3 separate regions of the Homo sapiens genome follow, and all the other regions are linked to region 2. Evidence: promoter capture Hi-C in 16 types of primary human blood cells and fetal thymus (Javierre and others, 2016). All regions are on one chromosome and are shown on one strand. The core of a region is centred on a gene start or on the middle of the fragment in contact, and the rest is flanking DNA. Distances in the headings are between cores, read along the strand shown. Region 1 overlaps CD101 (CD101 molecule). Region 2 holds the start of CD2 (CD2 molecule). Region 3 overlaps TTF2 (transcription termination factor 2).

Evidence for each region. The method cuts DNA at HindIII sites, captures the fragments that hold promoters and counts their contacts. A CHiCAGO score of 5 or more calls a contact.
Region 1: a contact is called between a fragment that was not itself captured here and the fragment with the promoter of CD2 in region 2, in 12 of 17 cell types (naive CD8 T cells, naive CD4 T cells, non-activated CD4 T cells and 9 more). The highest score is 10.1, in naive CD8 T cells.
Region 3: a contact is called between a fragment that was not itself captured here and the fragment with the promoter of CD2 in region 2, in 3 of 17 cell types (naive CD8 T cells, fetal thymus and naive CD4 T cells). The highest score is 6.7, in naive CD8 T cells.

Annotation. Positions count from the first base shown.
Region 1 is chr1:117,023,856-117,027,679 of GRCh38, reverse strand. It overlaps CD101 (CD101 molecule), which reads right to left. Exons shown (of 10, transcript NM_001256106.3): 8 at 1,776-2,171. It overlaps CD101-AS1 (CD101 antisense RNA 1), which reads left to right. Exons shown (of 4, transcript NR_110786.1): 4 at 894-2,198. Among named protein-coding and RNA genes, the nearest start is that of CD101, 24 kb to the right of the region's middle. The HindIII fragment of the contact is 433 bases long and covers 1,484-1,916 here.
Region 2 is chr1:116,752,722-116,756,926 of GRCh38, reverse strand. It overlaps CD2 (CD2 molecule), which reads right to left and starts at 2,497. Exons shown (of 5, transcript NM_001767.5): 1 at 2,374-2,497; 2 at 1,976-2,296. The coding sequence starts at 2,434. RefSeq lists promoters at 2,380-2,822, 2,380-4,205, a cis regulatory region at 3,881-3,910 and a silencer at 3,744-4,205. The HindIII fragment of the contact is 7,255 bases long and covers 1-4,205 here.
Region 3 is chr1:117,091,763-117,095,669 of GRCh38, reverse strand. It overlaps TTF2 (transcription termination factor 2), which reads right to left. Exons shown (of 23, transcript NM_003594.4): 17 at 3,720-3,853; 18 at 2,769-2,939; 19 at 303-361. MIR942 (microRNA 942) reads right to left here and starts at 1,027; the gene lies at 942-1,027. The HindIII fragment of the contact is 177 bases long and covers 2,437-2,613 here.

The DNA.
Region 1 (3,824 bases), core at 451-2,950, 270 kb before region 2:
ACTCTAGACACATTTGGGATCTATCATCTGTTCCTTTCCCTCCTCACTGGTCTCATCTCTTGCCACTGTACCATAGAGACTGCAGTTCCTGCCATTCTCAATGACCAGGAGTTCCCCGAATATAACATGAAATTTTACATCTTATTATCATCTTGCATACTCTTTCATGTTCTTAAAATATGTTTCTTCCTTTTCATGAGCCCCAGACTCTGGGGAACCTTCCCAGATCATCTCCCTACCTAGCACTTCACCCCAGCCCTGCCTCTGTTGTTCCCCTAGTCTACTGGAAATACTTCTTTGATGACACCTGTTATGTTGGACTTGATTTCTCCCACTGGATTCCAAGCTCGGTGGGAACAGACTCTGTCATGTACACTTTTGTGGCCTCAGAACCTGATATAGTTATTTATTAAACAAGTGTCATTATTTTGTCACATAGATGTACACATGTAGGTATGTGTGTACCTGTGTGTATATGTATGTGCAGCGGGTTTGGAGGCATAAGGGGAAAAGGAGATTACATTTGCTGAGCACTGACAATGTGCCAAGCACTGTACTGGATACTTTATACATATTTATATTGTGATCTTCATTTTATAGAAAGCTGAGGCTCACAGCAAGTAACCAGCGTATGATTTCATAGCTGGTATTGGTAGTAGAGCTGTGATTTGAGCCTAGGCTGGTCAGATTCCAGCCCCTGGGATTTTTTATCACCCCACACTGCCTCCCTGACTACCAGGAAGGAACAGCCAGGTGGAGGAGCCCAGAAGGTACATTACAGGGATTTCCTTGGAAATCCTCAACATTAATTACCCTCAAAACCCTCAGTTTGTCATGACAAAGGTTTTCTGAAGAATACGAAGGCCACTCAATTTTTAATGTTTTCTTTCCAGGTTTATCTTTTAAAAACCGTATACCTGTTTTACAAGGATCTCACAAAGATTAACAATATGTATGCTATGAAGGATCCCATCTGCCTCAGAGAAGATACGCTTTTCATCACAGACTGTATACTTTTTACAGTTCTTATCTATTTATTCTACTGCAAAAACTGCCGATTCTACAGAGCCTATTAATTCCACTGGGAAAACATGTACGGAATGTGCTCATGAGTATGGGACTTCCTGTAATTGTTGGAAAGAAGAAAAAGGCTGATAGAAAAAACATTTTGGCCTGGCACTCAGGAGAAAACTTCTGCTGAGGAATGAACAGGGAAAAACAATGATGGACCACCTCAAGGAACAAATCGGATAGCTTCGACTTCCCCTCTGGAAGCCCTGCTGCGCTGGGATGCACCTATCCCTACTTCTTAGATGTTCCCATATGTTCTCAACAGCATTCTGTCCCTCCTAAGCAGTGTCACTAAAGCTAGCTGGTCTCTTAGGATTGTTACCTTTATTGATGATTTTCCCTTTGTGCTTCCTGGTGTCTGGCACCAAGACCACACCCCTACTTCTCCAATGGCCCTTTCCCTCAGTAAGCTTAGCTTATTGCTCACCTCCCACCTTCTCCCTGAACCCCAGCAGAAAGACATGGACCTGTCAGATGCTCCCGATATTTAAGTGTCTATGCCAAAATCTCATGTGGACCTTGTTTGTTCAAATGAGTTACTATTGAGAGAGACAGCAAAGTCATCTTCTTTAGGGAACCTGAAAATTGTCTTCAGTCTGAAAATTGTCTTCAGAAGGAGCAAAAGATAGGTGAGAGGGAGAGGATAAGAGGAGAGCCATGTATTCTCCTGACCATGAGCTCGCGGTAGATAAACCCCTGGTTACCTGAAGGCAGCACCGTGAGCACCATCCGCTGTGACTCATCGGATGCTTGATTAATCCACTTGCTTGGGTGTCCATGGAGCTGCCACTCTGCCACCCTACACCAGTACATTCCTGCATCCTCCATCTCCACCTGATGAAGCTTCAGGACAAAGTCTGTAGAGGATGAACGGTAACAGTGCAGGTGCCTCCTGAGCCCCTCTTCCCCATACTCCAGCAAGCCATCATGTTGCAAGTGCACCAGCAATTTACTTCCAGAGTTTTCTCTGTTCCAGTACCACATCACAGAGTACAGAGTGGCTGAGCTGCCTACACTCTCCAGGCTGCAGCGGATGGCCACTTCTCTGTGCTCAGTCACATTTTCGGTCCAGTACACTTTGGAGACACGTACCTTACTTCCTAGAAAATAAAATGGCAGTAAATTAGAGAATGCAGACTTTCAGATTTGGATACCACCTCTGAAAAATCTAGTTCTCACTGGGAAGATCTTATATTCTTTAGACATCAGTGCATTCATTTTATTTTTTTTATTATTTTTATTTTTTGAGACAGAGTCTTGCTCTGTCACCCAGGCCAGAGTGCAGTGGCATGATCTCAGCTCACTGCAACCACTGCCTCCTGGGTTCAAGCAATTCTCCTGCCTCAGCCTCCCAAGTGGCTGGGATTACAGGCGTGTGCCACCATGCCCAGCTGATTTTTGTATTTTTAGTAGAGACGGGGTTTCACCATGTTGGCCAGATTGCTCTTGAGCTCCTGGCTTCAAGTGATCTGCCCACCTCAGCCTCCCAAAGTGTTGGGATTACAGGCATGAGCCACCACGTCCAGCCACATTCATTTTAATTCTTGTCCTTGGTCCCTGTTTTTCTCTCACATTTGCCAGGACATTCTCTGCTAGGAATCAAACCAGCCTCTTTCCTTCTTTAGCCCAACTGCTTGCCTGCTGGACCCTGCCATTGAAAACTACACAGCTTCTGCAGGGCCCTCTGCCTGCTGCTTTTACTTACCCTTGATTCACTCCTCCTCTACTTCCCAAAGTGGTCATTCACAACTTTTAGCAGCTCCCTCAAGCCATGTATTCCACCAGTACCCCTCATTCTTAGCAAATTACTCTCCTCCCATACACCCAGATATTATCTTGGGTGTAAACGCAGAGAGAGAGGACGCCATCCAAGAGACTGAACATTTTGATGCAAGTGTTAGAAGGCCATCCATGGGAGCTATTTAGATGATTGGATTAGACTGAGTTTTAAAGAGATTTTGACATTTACTTTTTTTCCCCTTGCTAACCAGCAGGTGAGGATTTAGAATAACAGCCAAAGTAGTTACAAACAAAATAAAGAAATTATAGTGTGCATTACATTTTCAATTCCACTACAAACACATTTATTTATTTATTTATTTATTTATTTATTTTTATTTTATTTATTTTTTGAGACGGAGTCTCGCTCTGTCGCCCAGGCTAGAGTGCAGTGGCACAATCTTGGCTCACCGCAACCTCTGCCTCCCGGGTTCAAGCGATTATCCTGCCTCAGCCTCCCGAGCAGTTGGGATTACAGGCATGGGCCACCATGCCTGGCTAACTTTTTTATTTTTAGTAGAGACAGGGTTTCACCATGTTGGCCAGGCTGGTCTCGAACTCCTGACCTCAGGTGATCCGCCCACCTTGGCCTCCCAAAGTGCTGGGATTATAGGCATGAGCCACTGTGCCTGACTCAAACACATTTATTAATCTGTCTTTAAGAGAATAATTCTGTCTGATCTTGGACTCTTTCTTAGTTACCATTTTTACTCTCCCCTTTCCTTCATGGAGTAGCACGTGGAATATTAGCACATGGAATACTGTTGCTGTTTCCTTGTCTCAAATTACTTCCTACTTTATTGTGATCTGGCTTCCAATCCCATCACTTTACTTGGCCAGGGCCCAATTTCCCAGTTCAAGGGACCCTCTAGTCCTTTTCTGTCCTCTATGTGGTTTTTGTTACTGGAGTCCAATTTCTCCTTGAAATTGACTTCTTTTCTTCCAACCTCAGAGAAAATATCCCCCTTACAACT
Region 2 (4,205 bases), core at 1,248-3,747:
CAGGCACTGCAGGACACTTGTACACACCTTGTCTCACTGAATATCCCTTGAAGTTGTCATTGGAAAAGCAGACTCACAGCAGATAGGGAATTTGCCCAAGGCCATGGTCACCTTAAGTCTGGTAATAGTGACCAACTACAAGTTGAATCAAGATGTTGTATGACATTGACGTGCACACACATAAAGCAAGTCACTGTCTTTCGGCTAAAGGGTGAAGGGTTTCTTTTTGGGGCAATGAAAATGTTGATTGTGGTGATGGTTACAAAACTCTGAATATACTGAAGGCCATTTTAGTATATGGACAAATTGAATGGTAGATGAATTATCTCAATGAAGCTGCTTGGAAAAAAAAAGAAAAGGTCGTCATTCTTGCCAAAAAGACCTCTGAGTTTGAATCCTGACTTTGCTCCTGTCAAGCAATGAGACCTTGGACAAGCTGCTTCTGACTAGGTCTCTGTTTTCTTATATATAACAAGGAGATAATAACAACTAGGTCTCAGTATTGTTGGGCGCTTTAAATAAGATCATGTAAGCAAGCACTTGACCCCTAACTGGTAGCCATTATTTCCGCCGCAATGCTAAATGCGACCCAAATGTGAAAACACCAGCATGGTCCCCCGCGTAGGGCTCACACTCAAAACAGGACACTCGAGTTTTGTGCTGTTTGGAGTCCTGAGATCTGTGGTTTCCAGAGCCCATAATCAGAGGCCCTTTTCAGCGCCATGCTCAACCCCACTACATTTCTACAAGGTGCTCTCCACTCAAGGTTGCAGGACTAGGGTGTGGAAAGTTGTCACTTCAGGGGAGCTGACAGTGTCTGGGATTGCTGGAGTGGGCAATCTGACACTATCTGGGATTGCTGGTAGGCCCAGGTGCTGAAGATGGGGCTGGAGACAGAGAGGAAGAAGGTGGGGTCCCTGCTTCTGGTGATATTTTCTGTGTGAAGCACAGAAATGCTTATTTGCTCACTGAATGGCTGGCCTGTGCTCATGCTGGGGTTCCTGTCTGCCTCCCCAAGTCAAGCGCAGCTTCTTCTTTTCCCTTCTTGTCACTACTTCCCCAGCATCCCCCCGGGCTTTCAACTTCAATGGCATTTCGATTCCACTTTCTCTACCTTCTCTCCCTTGCCTAAGCCACCTTTCTCTATGCCTGACCCTTATTATCCTCATTCTTCCTATTTTAGAGGCACCCTTTGGTCTAGGCCAGTGGCGATTGACTTTGGCAGCTCATTAGAATCCCCCAGGGAGCTTTAGAACCTAATGATACCCAGGCCGCATGCAAAAAAAATCTGATTTAATTGGTCCTCACTCCACTTGGATTACAGCAGCAGCTTTCTAACTAGTCTCCCTAACCCCATCCTCAATATCCACTCCTGTCCTCCCAGTACAGGCAGAGATATACAAAGCCACACCTTGTGCATCTTCTACACATATCAGCAAAAATCACCTGCCACCTTGTATCACTCTGACAAGCAGATCCAAAATAAGGGCTGTTCATCCTTAAATATGTTGTTTCCAGCCCTTTTCTGCCATATAACTCCTCCTTCAGGGCAGCCTGGCTTGAAATGGGCTCTGTCGATGAAAGGCCCGCTGCTCTCCAGTCAGCCTCTTCTTCTCGCCCCACTCTTAGCTCGCCGATTCATCAGCAACCTGGAACAGTTGCCTTTTCCCTCGGCCTACCTGTGTCCCCCTCCCGATTAATGCCACCTTAATCCAGGTTCTTCACCCAACCCCACATTCCTGTAACCACCTGAAGACAGAGTTGTAGGCAGGTAGACTTGAGGGTCTATCAGATGTGTGGATCCCATTCCCGCATTGGACCACAGTCTCCACTGGGGCAGGAGACATGCATCTGGTTTCCTGTATAGCCCCCCTGGAGGCAGAGGTCAGCGCTGGGGAATATTAGAAATGCTATTTTCCAACTTGCCAAATAGCACCCACACTGAAATAAAGCAATTAAGGGAATGAACACTTACCTTGAATCTTCAAATCAAATATTTTTTCCAACACATTTTTTCCTTTTGTATCATATATTGATACCTTGTAGATATCCTGATCATCGGTCTTCAGATGCTTAATTTTCAGAGTTCCATTTTTAAATAGCTTATATGTATCTTTTTCCTTGAAAGTCTCTTTCTCTTTTCTGAATTGTGCAATCTTTTTCTTGTCTGAAGTTTTTTCCCATTTTATATCGTCAATATCATCACTCATTTGAAAACTAGGAATGTCCAAGTTGATGTCCTGACCCAAGGCACCCCAGGTTTCCAAGGCATTCGTAATCTCTTTGGAGACTGCACCTATAAAAAGCAAAAGAGTTACTGAGAGTCACTTTCAGGGAAAGCTGGGTTGGGACTTCTTTGACTCTTATGCTTACCTTTGGAAGAAACATTGAAAATCAGAAGGAAGCTGGCTACAAATTTACATGGAAAGCTCATCTTAGGGGTTGGTTTCCTCTTTTGATTCTGAGCTCTTCATGCAAAAGGAACTGAAGTGAGACTGGTGGAGTCCACACCCCGAGAGCTTAACCACGTGCCTCTCTTTACATCTTTTACAGTAACATAAAACATAATACACATACACAGAGAGCAAGAGCGCGCACAAGCCAGCCCTTCTGATGTGCTCCTTTGCCAAAGCAGATGTGTTTATGAGTGTGTGTTTTCTTGCTGCATTTTAATTCTCACACAAAAAAATTGGGAAGGATAGGTTTTCTCATCTCAGTGAAAGAGAAAAGGAACAGAGAGGCTAAGTAGATCACTAAGGATCACTCTTTTGTAAACAAGAAGCCAAATTCAACCACACAGCCTTTTATCCACTTAGGTATACTGTCCCTAACAAGACCACATAGAAATATAGGTAAATGTTCACAAGCCAATAGCAGAATGCAAACATTTATCCCATATGATTATATTGAAAAATGTAGACCCATAAAATGATGAGGAAATTGATTTTTTTGTTTCTCCAAAGATATTTTTCATGTTCTAAAATCGTTTTTGTGGTGAAAAGAAAGAAATTGAATATCAGCTGTAAATGCTTGCAATCCCCAAATCCTATGTTCGGCATACATTTTACAACTCTAGTGAAATTCACAGTTAGATAAATAAAAACTTATTCCAAAACAAAGAAGCATAGAGACTATGAAATATAATTAAACTACCAAAACAAAGGAGTCAAAAGCATTTAAAGTGATTAACATTATAGGTGGTTAAGAAAAAGGAGAGATTAGGAGAAAAAATAAATGAGAGGGAACAGGGAGAGAAAAAAAGAACAGAAATTTGTGACACAAGGAAACAGACAGTGATGCAGAGACGGGTGTGCCCTGAAAAGATGCCTAAAAAGAGAAATAACCATGACAGACTTCCAAAGCACATTTTCAGGGTTATAATTCTTTAGGTCACAGTGAGTAAAAATTGCAAAAGTGGTGCTCGTTTTCTTTTTCAACTTTAAGTACAAATATGGATATTATCTGTCAGAAAGTTGCCAAGGAAATGAAATTAAGTCAAAGCAGTTGTTTGCTGTTACTGGGTAAAAGAAAGCCAAATATTTACCTCATGGTTGTATGAGCGTCATCCACAATAATGAACTACAGTTGGATTAAAGTTTTAAATGCAAAAATACTATAATAATGCTAAAAGGAGGCCGGGGGTGGTGGATCACAGCTATAATCCCAGCACTCTGGGAGGTCGAGGCGGACCTCCTCACCTGAGGTCAGGAGTTCAAGACCAGCCTGGCCAACATGGTGAAACCCATCTCTACTAAAAATACAAAAATTAGCCAGGTGTGGTGATGTGCGCCTGTAATCCCAGCTACTCAGGAGGCTGAGGCAGGCAAATTGCTTGAATCTGGGAAGCGGAGGTTGCAGTGAGCCAGGATTGTGCCACTGCACTCCAGCCTGGGGAGCAGAGTGAGACTCTGTCTCAAAATAAATAACTAAATAAATAAAATAATAACAATAATGCTAAAAGGACAATATAGAAAGATATTCCTATAGTTTGAGTATGGAAGGCCTGGCTACATATAACATATAATCCAAAGTAAGAAAGAAAAGATGAACACAACTGATGATATAAAGAAGTAAGATTTACATGCAGATGAAGAAATAAGGAACAAAATGAAAAGGCGTGACAAAATATTTGCAATATATATAAAATTATTAATATTCAAAATATTCTTACCAATAATTCTTACCAATCAATACAAAGTAGTTTT
Region 3 (3,907 bases), core at 1,276-3,775, 340 kb before region 2:
CCAAGTACTCAGCTTAAGAACGTTATCAGCACTGCTGGAGCCTCCTCACTCGCTTGCTTTTCTTTATATGCTTCTCTACTTTTAAACACTTTTTCAGATGCTTCGCTTACCCTGATCCTCTAGGGATCTCCTTTTCAATTTGTACCACAAATATTTTAATTAGAAATCACAGGGAATGTGTGCTATAACCTCAGTGCTTTCTGCTGAGCATGACTCACAGTCCTTGATTTATAACTCTTGGCAATATCAAATTTTCTCACATAATTATGACCAATACTTGGATAATGAGAAAACGCAGTTACCTCTTTTGGGATGCTGAATTTCTTTGAATTGCCTCCAATTCTGCCAACAGAGATGAAATCTGGGAAAAGGTTACATCAACATTGTATGTTTAAGCAATTCACTTTTCTCCATCTCCCCTCACCTGCCATGCGAAGCAGCCTCCTACATGGCGTCTGTGCTCTGGCCTCACCTGTCTTTATTCCACCCTCCTCTCTGCAGCCAGAAAGCTCTTTCTAAAATGTGAGTTTGTCACTTCACCCCTCTGGCTAAAGCCCTTCCATAGCTTCCCACTGAGGATAAAGGCCAAGCTCCTCAAGGCAGCTTGCCGGATTCTTGCTGCTCCAGCCTCTGCTTCTCTGGGTTCGTTTCTCACCATGCCCTCCTCAAACGACACAGCAAGCACACCAAAATTCTTCCCATAAATCACACACTGGCCATCTTGTCCATTCTGCTCCCTCTGCCTAGAACACCCTTTTGTGTCAGCTTAATGTCACTTCTTCTTGGAGGTCCTCCCAACCCCCAAAGTACAGGTTAGGTGCCCACTGCCCAAGTACTATCATAGCACCTTTTGTTTCTATTATCACGGTCCTTGTCATACTGTATATTAATTGCTTATTATCTCTTGCTTCCAGGACTTGAGACACTCCAAGGAGGCAAATATTAGGAAAGTAACTTCTCTGTTTCGGCCATGTGTGAGGGGCTGTGAGTACACACATGGCCAAAACAGAGAAGATACTCTCCTAATGTTTGCTGAAGAAGAAAGTGAAAGAGCTTTACCCACTTTATGGCCTGCTCCAAATGTTGTTGAAAAGGACCTGTCCAGACGGAGGAACCATTGTTAAAGCTTCCGAACAGGCTCCCTGGGTATTCCCCAAGAACCCTTAGGGTGCACTTGAGTCCACAGGGGAGCTGTCAGTAAGAACACGTGGGGCATGACTTTGGAGTGCAGCTGGGCTCATTCTTCCCAGCTGCTCATGTGAAAAACCTTTCAAGAGCCTCTAAGGGCCCCAGAGTTCACCCCCAGAATGCTGGAGAAGGAAGAAAACTGGGCTGTAAGTCAATCAGGAGACAAATATACAGAAGTTCTTCCTCTGTCCTCATATGGCTGGACCACTTTGGGACTCAGATTCCTCATCAGTGAAAAGAAGGACTTAGGCCAGATAAATTCTGAGGTGCCCTGAGCTCCCACATTCTAGGATGTCATTACAGTGGTCACCACATGGGGCTGCTTTCCAATCTTAACAAACATTCTGGTGCCTAGGCAGGAAGTGAGTCACAGAACTGTACCATTCAAATTAGCAGACAGAAAAGCAGCTACATCTGTTATTTAGTTAACAATAGAACAGAGACACTGATGTGCCTGGTGTCTTGGCAACTTGAGATTGTGGAAGGCGCTGTGACTCCCACATGAAAAAGCTAGCCATGGTGTTTTGAGAAAACTGCAGCAGGAGGGCTGGATTTATGGCCCACGAGCCGGGGTCAAATTCCAGTAAGAAGCCTCCTTCCCTACTTGAAACAACCGTATGTGGTTTGAACTATTAATGGACATATGTTAAGAAAACTTGTGAATAAATATTACCTGCATTTAATTAAACAAGGAACACAAATGATTAGGAATTTAAATTTTAGCCCAATAGCTCACTCTGAAGGCACTAGCATGTGTGTTCTGGCCACATGGGATGCTCTTCTTATGTTTCTCTCAGCTATCAGTGGTAAAGACCTAGGTAAATGTTTTCAAATTTTAATTAAAAGGCAGCATTCCTTTTAAAAAATAATGCCATTCCCCTGGAAGTGACCTTTCTAGTTATTAATACACTTTTTCAAAAAAAGCCTTTGAAGAGAGGTTGAGCCCAAGAACGGCAGCTTGAGATGCTAAGAGAGAAACAAGCCTCACTTTCAAGACAGGCAGGATGATGAAGCACATTCCGAGCCAGCAGACAGGCAGGATTCAGGTTACGGCATATCTAAGCCTTCCTCCAGCAGAATGTTTCTGCCTTAAAAAGCTCTGACGAAAACAGAGCAGAATGACTAATGAAGACAGAAGGCTATGTAGGAAACACTACTCACATGTGGAAGCCTTTCAAAGTCAGAGCAATTGGCGCTCGCATGTATGACACAGTCTCTAGAGTCAAGCCTTTGTTTTCCTTTTAAGCTTTCTCTAAACAAATTGCTCACTTGCATAGGCCCCGTCCCTAGCACAAACCTGGCAAGCTCCCCAGTGACCCATGACAGAAAACCCACTTCAGTGCAATGCTGGGGTTGTCCCAAATTACTCTCTCAAAGTCCCCTATGTAGTAAGGCTTTAGTGTTATCTGTGAAATAAATGAAGCTTTAAGACTGGAGGGAGAATCTGATCAGCTAGAATTTAACGGCTCTAGCTCTGCTGGCAAATGGCTGTTCCCACTTGGACAAATGAAGTGCTGTCACACAGGAAAATGTGTGAGGAATCGAAGTCTCTCGACTACTACAGAGGAGACAAAAAGTACCTTGGTGCTCTCTCGCATGCCTTCAAAAAGCTCCATCTTGAAGAAGGTGCCGTTAAGGGAAACAGTGGAAGATGGCTCTGAGTCACGGAGTTCTGACAAGGTCAAAGCACTGAGCTGTTCTTCCAGGGAAAGGACAAGACCTTCACCCTTCAGTTCCATTGGATCCAGGGCCTGAACAGACAAAAAAGGACAGGAGCAGCTGGGAGTCAAGGGAGCAAACCTTGTTACTTGTTGATGATGTTTTGATTGTTTACCACTTCACAGAGCAAAATATCTTGTAATTTGTCATCAGTAACTCCTCAAGACACCTTGATTAAAGTGTGATCTTGCAAGTTTTTTCACCACATTAAAGATAAACCAAATGATGGAACTTTTTAAAGACTTGCCAGGCAGATGACATAATCATTCTATTTTTTCCAAGCTAGAATATAATTGAGATGTTGATAATCAGAATACATTATTACAGCTCCTTAAATGAATAGAATACTCCTCTTAATTTTGGATGTGCCTCTATCCAAGGTAGGGGCAACTTTTCAGTCTGTATAACTATCTGAGTTTTTATAACTGGAACCCAAAACCCCAAAACTGCCTGAAAGCAGAAAACCCCAAGAACTAAATTAGCTTTATGACATTCTGAAGTACCAGAGCATTCACAAATGGCTTCTTTTTAAACAAAATATCATTTTCTTTTCTTAAACAGTTAATCTAAAACAAAATAAACAATAGAAATACACTATTCTTGATGCCATAGGAATTATCAAGATTAATATGAAATAAAGCAAAATAAATAAGCCCCCTTTTCTCCAACCCACCAAAAAACAAAAATAGAAAAACCGAAACAGCATTTCCTTTGATCAAGCAGACTGGATTCCAGTTGGAGGAGAGTGAAATTGACTTCTCAGGTGGCCCCTCTGGAGCACTATATGACAGCAGGCTGAGGGCTTTTCTTACCGACTTCAGTAAAGAAAGATGACAGCAACACTGGCGGAGTCTCAGCAACTGGGACAGTATGTGGACGGTGCTGGATCTCGGTGAGTCTGCTGCCTCCGAGTGTCTAGGCTCCTCAGACCCAAACTCCAGTGCCACTTCCAAGAGGGAAGACAAGCCACAGGATGGTACAGGATTTAAAAGAGAAATAC